Linked DNA regions of Homo sapiens: region 1 is linked to region 2. The links are contacts of gene promoters, found by promoter capture Hi-C in human tissues and cell types (Jung and others, 2019). All regions are on one chromosome and are shown on one strand. The core of a region is centred on a gene start or on the middle of the fragment in contact, and the rest is flanking DNA. Distances in the headings are between cores, read along the strand shown.

Region 1 (4,214 bases), core at 602-3,101, 43 kb before region 2:
ATTCATAAACACTTTTAAAAAATAATGTGCACTTTTTCTGTTTATGAAATATTTCCCTATTTCAATGTAAAAAATATATTCTAAATTTTCTTCTAAACGTTTCAAAGTTTTGCCTTTTTACCTTTAAATCCTTAATTCATCCAGGTTAGAGACCTCATTTCATTTTTACAATATGGATAAAAAATTATCCGAGTATTATTTATTGAGCAGTTCAGTTTTTCTCCACTATTCAAAAATGCCACTTCTGTCATTTACTGATTCCATAGTGGCCCAGGTCTGTTTTCTAGGGTTATGGTTTGTTCCATTGGTCCATGCACCTATCCTGCATCCATACCACAGTGTCATGATCAGTAAAATTTTAGTCTTGTTATTTAGAAAGGCAAACCCTCCACCTTACTCTATTTTAGGAATGTTTTGGATACTCTTGAACTTTTGATTCTTCCAGGTAAATTCTGGAATCAGTACATCAAATTCAACTCTTAAAACCCTTTTTGGATTTCGATTGTAACTGCACTGAATCAGCGGTTCTCTACTGGGAACAATTTGGCCCCCAGGGGACATTTGGCAATGTCTGCAGACTTTTTTGATTCAATACAACAGAAAGGGATGTTTGCTAATAGCATCCAGTGGGTACAGGCCAGGTATGATGCTAACTACCCTACAATGCATAGCTCCCACAACAAAGAATGATCTGTTTCAAAATATCAATAGTACCAAGGCTGAGAAACCCTCCACTAAATCTAGACAATTTGGAGAGAACTGACATGTTTACATTATTATTTTGATAAACATGGAATATCTTTCCATTTATATAGGTCTTTAATGTATTTCAATTAAACATTATAACCTACAGTGTACAGATTTTGTACTTCTTTTGTAAGACTTATTCCTAAATCAAGATTTTTGGCTATTATAAATGGTATCTTAAAAATTATGTTTAATATTTGTTACTGATATATAGAATATAACTTGATTTTATGTTTTGATGTTATAGCCAGCCATCTTTCTAAAACTCACTATTTTTAGTATGTCTGTAGATCTTTCGAAGTTTTCTATATGAAAATCCTATCGTTTACAAATGATGCTCGTTTCTTCCATTTTGATACTGACATTTTTAATTTCTCTTGCTTGTTTTACTGTGATGGCTAGGACCTCCACTACAAAGCTGACGTAGCAAGGAGAACTGATGTCCTTTTCTTCCACCTTATTCTAAAAGAAATAGTCCCACATTCAAATGTATGGAAATTTTTTATTTATATTTTTTGTTAACTTCAAATTTAATGGTATTTTGGTAAGAAAACGTGTCCTCTATGAAACAGATTTTTGGAAATGTAAAGACTTCCTTTATAACACATATCATCAATTATAAAATCCATATTAAAAAAAGTTTCATGTCCTTCACCTATCAATAAAGATGTTTTGAAATTATCTACTATGATGGTAGATATTTCAATTTATTCCTGTAGTTCTACCAACTTTTGCTTTATATACTTTGAAGTTATTTTACTGGGTATATTCACATTTAGAAATACTACATCTTCCTGGGAAATTGAGCATCTTATTATTATCCTTAATGCTCTTGGCTTTAAAGTCTCCTTTGCCTGTTATTAAGTAGCTACACCAGCCTTCTTTTAGTTTGTATATGCCTGACTTACCTTTTTCCATACATTGCTTTCAATCTTTATGTGAATTTATGCTTGCAGCATATATCTGGATTTCTCTTTCCCCAATCTGATAGTCTCTGCCTTTTAATAGGTGAGTTTAATCTATTACTATTTACTGTGATTATTAATCTATCTGGGCTTATTTCTATTATTTATTTTACTTTTTAATTTCCATTTGTTCCACTTTATGCTTTTTGCCCTTTATAAAATTTTATTTTTTTCTCATTCTACTTCTTCTTGCTACTTGTCTGGAATTTATGCACTCTATTTCTCTTCTTTTAAAGTTTATTCTTGAAAGTTTATCATGCACGTTTACCTTTAAAAGTTTACAGTCAAAGAATATTCATTACCTTCTCTTAAAAACACAAGGACCTTTAGAACACAACTCTGGACCTGCCCACCCCCACTTACATACCGTGGCTACCCACTATTCTAGTTGTCTTTTTCTTAACTCAAAAATTAGATTTATATATCAAATGTTTATTATACATACGTATCTATATTTATGTGTGTGTTTACCATTTATTCATTATTCTCTCTTGAATTTTCAACTATCTTTCTGGAATAATTTTCCTCTTTTTGAAGTATACCCTTTAATGCAGGTCTCATGGTTGTAAACTCTCTTCGTTTTTTTATTCATCTATAAATAACTATTTCACCCTCACCCTTAAATCATAGTCTTGCTGGTACACAATTATAGGCTGTTATTTTCCTTCAGCATTTCTAAGATACTATGTCACTGTCGTCAGGCTTCTACTGTAGAAGATGAGAAGCTTTCTGGTACAGTAATTAATTGTCATTCCTTTGTAGCAGTATCCTCCATATGGCTTAATTAATATTACTTTCATATTTTCCATTTTCTTTAGGCATATCTTCTAGCTCACTAAATACATTTTTTTAGTTCAGTAGTATTTCTCATTTCTGCAAGTTCCCTTTTTTCAAATTCATCCATTCAGTCCTAATAATCTCTTGATAACTGGTGATGCATGCGATTATATCCTTTATTTATGTAAATACACAGCTGTTCTGTATCTGACCTTTCCAATATCTACACTCTTTGGGGGATTAAGTATGTTCTTTGCTGCTTACCTCCTCCTGTTTTGGTGATATTGGATTTTGAGCTCATTGCTTGTCTTAAACTGGTGAAAATCCTATTGGACTTAACTTATGAAATGAGTACACTTTCTCAATTCAGTCCCCTTGAGGGTCTGGGTTCAGCATAGTGACCCAAGGCTTTCCTTCCCAATGCTCAAGACAGCCCCCAAACTCATTCTCTGATCTACTAACAACTGCTCTTAAGCAACTCAACCCCTACAGTTACCTGCAGCTTCCCACAGGCAGAATGCCAAGTCACTCTGACTTCAGCTCACATGTACTGTTCTTATTTTATTTTACATTTTTCAAAAAGAGAAACTTAGAGACTTCCCATACTTCTTGTGAGGCCAGTAGTGTCGCAAATAGTGTGTCACTTCCAGTCTTTGGTTATTGTGCAGTAAATGGAGTTCCTAGTCTCATTGCCTGAAGGAGACCTTTAATATTTTTTACTAAAAAACAGCATATAATTCCATTTTTATAAAAATAATTTCTCTCTAGCTATCCATCTCTCTATATGCATGTATAGATTTTTTAAAAATGCTGTCCAGGCATGATGGCTCACTCCTGTAATCCTAGCACTGTGGGAGGCTGAGGCGAGCAGATTGCTTAAGCCAAGGAGCTTGAGACCTTCCTGGGCAACATGGTGAAACTTTGTTTCTACCAAAAAAAAAAAACCCAAAAACCCAAATTTAGCCGGTGTGGTGGCGCATGCCTGCAGTCCCAGCTACTTGGGAGGCTGAGGTAGGAGAATCACCTGAGCCCAGGGAGGTCAAGGTGGCAGTGAACTGTGATGGTGCCACTGTACTTCAGCCTGGACAACAGAGTGAGAGCCTGTCTCACAAAAAAGATGCCTAGAATTGCAATCATCTGATATTAATGATGGTTATTTCTGAGTAATTATATAACAAGCCTATATTGTTTTTACAAGAGTATAATGGTTTTCCGAAACAAAAATAAAAAAGAAACAGTTATGCATACCCTAACAACAGGGATGCTTTCTGAGAAATGCATTGCTAGGCAATTTCATTGTTGTACAAACATCATAGAGTGTACTTACACACATTGAGATGGTAGAGCTTACTATACACCTGGGCTATATGGTATAGCCTATTGCTCCTAAGCAATGAACTTGTATAGCATATTACTGTACTGAATGTGGTAGGCAATTGTAACACAAGGACAATTGTAACACAATGGTAAGAATTTGTGTGTCTAAACATATCTAAACATAGAAAAGGTACAGTAAAAATATAATCTTATGGGACCAGTATCATACACGCAGTCCACCATTGACTGAAACATCATTATATGACACATGACTATTCTGAGATGTTAACAGTGGTCGGTTTAGGGTGGTACAGATACAAATTATTTTTATATATTTATTTTTAAATTTAAAAGATCAGCTGTTTGACATTTATCAATGCAAATGTTTTAGTTACAACCACAGTTTGT
Region 2 (3,900 bases), core at 1,005-3,504:
TATGTAGCCCAGGCTGCTTGCAAACTCCTGGGCTCAAGCAATCCCCCTGCCTCAGCCTCCCAAGTAGCTGGGACTACAGGTGCATACCACCAAGCCTAACTAATTAAAAAAAAAATTTTATTTTTTTTTTTGAGATAGGGTCTTGCTCTGTCACCCAGGCTGGAGTGAAGTGGCACGATCTTGGCTCATTGCAACCTCCACCTCCCAGGTTCAAGCAATTCTCCTGCCTCAGCCTCCCAAGTAGCTGGGACTGCAGCCATGAGCCACCAAGCCCAGCTAATTTTTTGTATTTTTAGTAGAGACGGGGTTTCACCATATTGACCAGGGTGGTCTTGAACTCCTGACCTCAAGTGATCCGCCTGCCTCGGCCTCCCAGAGTGCTGGGATTACAGGTGTGAGCCACCGTGCTTGGCCTCAAAAAAAATTTTTTTTTTAGACACGAGTTCTTATTGGTTGCCCAGATGGTCACAAACTCCTATAAAGCATGATATTAAAAAAATAAATAAATAAAATCTAGCTCTCATAATTGTCAAGTAAAATTCTATAGTTTTGAGCAAATATTTTCAAATCATCAACAGATATTTCTTGAGTACCTACCATTTGTATAGCTTTGTGGAGAAATATAAAACATGAACCTCACATTAAAACTTACCATTCAGTTAAGGAGCTTTCTCTCCTAAATAATTCCCAGCAAAACAAATGATTACGTAGAAAAGGTCTTTTAGTGTTATTTTTAGATCTGCCCACTTTCACAATGCTGTTTCCTTCCCCCCATTTCATCTGAATTCTAACAGGAAATGATTTATCAGCTGGCATTAAACTATTGGTCCACGATCTTTTATCCCAATCCTTTGAGGCCAGATGATTTGTGGAAATTCTCTTTTGGGTGCGGTGGTAGGGGTGGAATTTTCAAGAGTAGTGCCATGTCTATACCATATATTACATGATACCCACAGTAAGGTGTGGAGCTGCTCTGAACAATTAAACACATTAACATGTCTGCAATAAAAACATGTAAATATTTGGAATAAAGACTACAAATGGCCTCAGGCCAAGTTTTACCACCAAATGAGTTGGAGGAAAAGTTGATTTCCAAAAGTTTTTGGATTTCAGGATTGAGAATAAGGAACAGAGGAGCTGAACTGACTTTATCCAAAGACTTGGGACAATAATGACAATAGCATCTAAGAGGCTGAGTGTCCAGAGCTATCTCTGAAAAGATGCATTTAAGGTGGAACTATGAGAAAAGAACAGCTCTTGTGTTTGTACAGGTTCTGCCTATAGACATGAGTTTGACTCGTAAGGAAATGAGCTCTGGCCAAGAATGCTACGGGAAAATGGTTATAGAGACTACCATGCCATTAGGAGGTGTTACTGTTTTGATGAAAAGAATACTGTCAGAGGCAGAGAATCTAATCTTTTCCAGCCCTAAGTGTGTGTTCATTAATTTATTCAACTAATAATCTTCCAGAGCTTACCATGTGGCAGGCTCCATTCTAGGAAATGGAGAAACAGGTGCACAAGACACAGTCCTCACACCCTGGAGTAAACAGCTACTCTTCATTGAACGCTCACAATGTGCTCACACCTGGGCCTTCACATGCCTCATCTCTCTCCTTTAATTAGGATTCAAAGCCATGATTTGAGGTCCTGCTTTGCCATTTCCTAACTAAGACTTAACAACTTCTCTAAGTCTCAGTTCCCTCATCCGCAACACAAAGAATAATCGCCAGACAGGGCCGTGGGGGAGGAAGAAACGAGATGCTTTGGAAAGAATTTTGAAAATGGCGGGTGGAGGCTGAGCAAGAATCAACTTTCTGTGGGCAGGGCCTTTCCTCGGCATCCTCGTCTTCATTCATACAACCCCCACTTCAGATGACGACTGTGTACCAGATGAGCCAGGTGCTGGGCGTTCGGCCACACAGAGAATCAGACCAGCAATTACCCTAGGAGAACCGGCAGTGGAGGGGAAGGCTGGACCTCAGGAAAGCCTCTAGAAGGAGAGAGGGACGTGATGGCGTCACGTCACGCCACAGGGATTTCACCTCCTGCGGATGGTAATGGCCTCGCCGCCCTCCCGCCCCCACCTGGACTCCGACGGTGCCGGCAAGAAACGGGAGGAGGGAAGGCAACCGATGTTTCCAGACCCGCCTTGAGCCCCACCACCACTCCCAAGCAGAGGCTGTTACCTGAGAGGAAAGTCGGCCGCTGCCCAACGACCAAACTTCCTCTCCCCAGGATATTCCACCTACTCCAGCCAGGCTCAAGGGCCCAGGCCGGTCCCCACTTCCGCTTCCTCACTTTCTGGCCTGGTGCAGTTCCTGTCAGGGCGTCAAGCAAGATGGTTGCAGATACCTGAGCTGGAGGGTACCAAGGGGAATGAAGGTAAGTGTCTTCGTTTCACAGGCTGCCGGGCTGTGACACTGCCCTAATCCTCCTTTCAAAGAATAAATTTTTTTTTTTTTTTGAGATCTGGGAAATAGTTTAATCAGACACTAGCATTTATTCTTAGCTGCTTTCTTAATTAAATAAAAATGAGTATAAATTAATTTACTAAATGTTCACAACGTAAAAACGGACATTAAAAAAAGAAAAAAAATGCCAAGGTAAGCTGATAATGTTTTTAAAAAGTAGACAATAAAATAATGTATGTAACTTAAAATTTGCCATGATAATTTATTCTTAAAATGGAAAATCAGTAAAATACTCAGACTTCTAGCATAATATCTCTTTTTTTTTATTTATTATTATTTAAGTTTTAAGGACATGGATGAAATTGGAAATCATCATTCTCAGTAAACTATCGCAAGAACAAAAAACCAAACACCGCATATTCTCACTCATAGGTGGGAATTGAACAATGAGAACACATGGACACAGGAAGGGGAACATCACACTCTGGGGACTGTTGTGGGGTGGGGGGAGGGGGGAGGGATAGCATTGGGAGATATACCTAATGCTAGATGACGAGTTAGTGGGTGCAGCGCACCAGCATGGCACATGAATACATTTTTAAAAGTGTGTTACTACTGTCATTTCAACTGACTAGAAATACCACCAGCACGTGATTGCCACCTCAAAGGACTGAGAATGTAATAGTAGTCTATGAAGAGCAGTGTGTGTGATGGACAATGATGGGGTAGCTCCAGTGACTGATGGCTTCAGGTGCCACTGACGGGTAATTGTTGATGTATTCAACTGATTTTCCGTGAGCACCCACTTTGTGCCAGACAGTAAGGACTCGGAGATAAAAAGCAGCCCTCTGCTGGATACGTTTACAGGCTAGTGGAGGTGACAGGCACCGTCAGAGAAGATTGTAACAAGATATGTATGGCATAGTAAGAGAGAAGAGATCATCTAATTCTGCCACTGAGTATTTAAGGGCAGGTTTCACAGAAGAGTTTACATCTGAATTGAATCTTAAAGGATGACAGGGAGTTCACTGGATAGACAAAGTAGAGGAGGACGTAAGAGGCAAAGGACACATCATGTGTAAAGGCATGAAAGCTGAGCCAGCCTATTATCTTGGAAAAACTACATGTACTGTAGTTACTACAACTGTCACAAAGGCTATTAGTGGAGCAGCAGAGGAAGGTTAAATAACAGAGGGAAGTTGGATCATGAAGAACCTTATCCATACTACAAGGTGATTTTATCCAGTAGGCATTGAAAAATGTAATCGAACCTGTGTTTTAATGGAATATTGACTAGGATGAGGGGAAAAGACAGAGGATAACAAAACACTTAGTAGACAAAAGCAACATTTGTTTCTATCTCCTACTACTTCAGTCATAATTATAATAATAATAGCCCACATTATTGATACTGACATGTAGATAGGTGAATCCAATATAAAATGATAGGAGGTATGAAAGAAGTTGGTGAGTTTGGAATATTATT

The links. Contacts are between HindIII fragments. The study calls those that stand out against the background at their distance.
Region 1: a fragment that was not itself captured here is called in contact with the fragment with the promoter of ENTHD1 in region 2 in 1 of the 25 tissues and cell types used here (small bowel).

The regions. Positions count from the first base shown.
Region 1 is chr22:39,848,750-39,852,963 of GRCh38, forward strand. The region is part of intron 3 of ENTHD1 (ENTH domain containing 1); the gene reads right to left. Among named protein-coding and RNA genes, the nearest start is that of ENTHD1, 43 kb to the right of the region's middle. The HindIII fragment of the contact is 5,099 bases long and covers 1-4,214 here.
Region 2 is chr22:39,891,506-39,895,405 of GRCh38, forward strand. It overlaps ENTHD1 (ENTH domain containing 1), which reads right to left and starts at 2,255. Exons shown (of 7, transcript NM_152512.4): 1 at 2,190-2,255. It also overlaps a transcript of GRAP2 not described here. The HindIII fragment of the contact is 22,421 bases long and covers 1-3,900 here.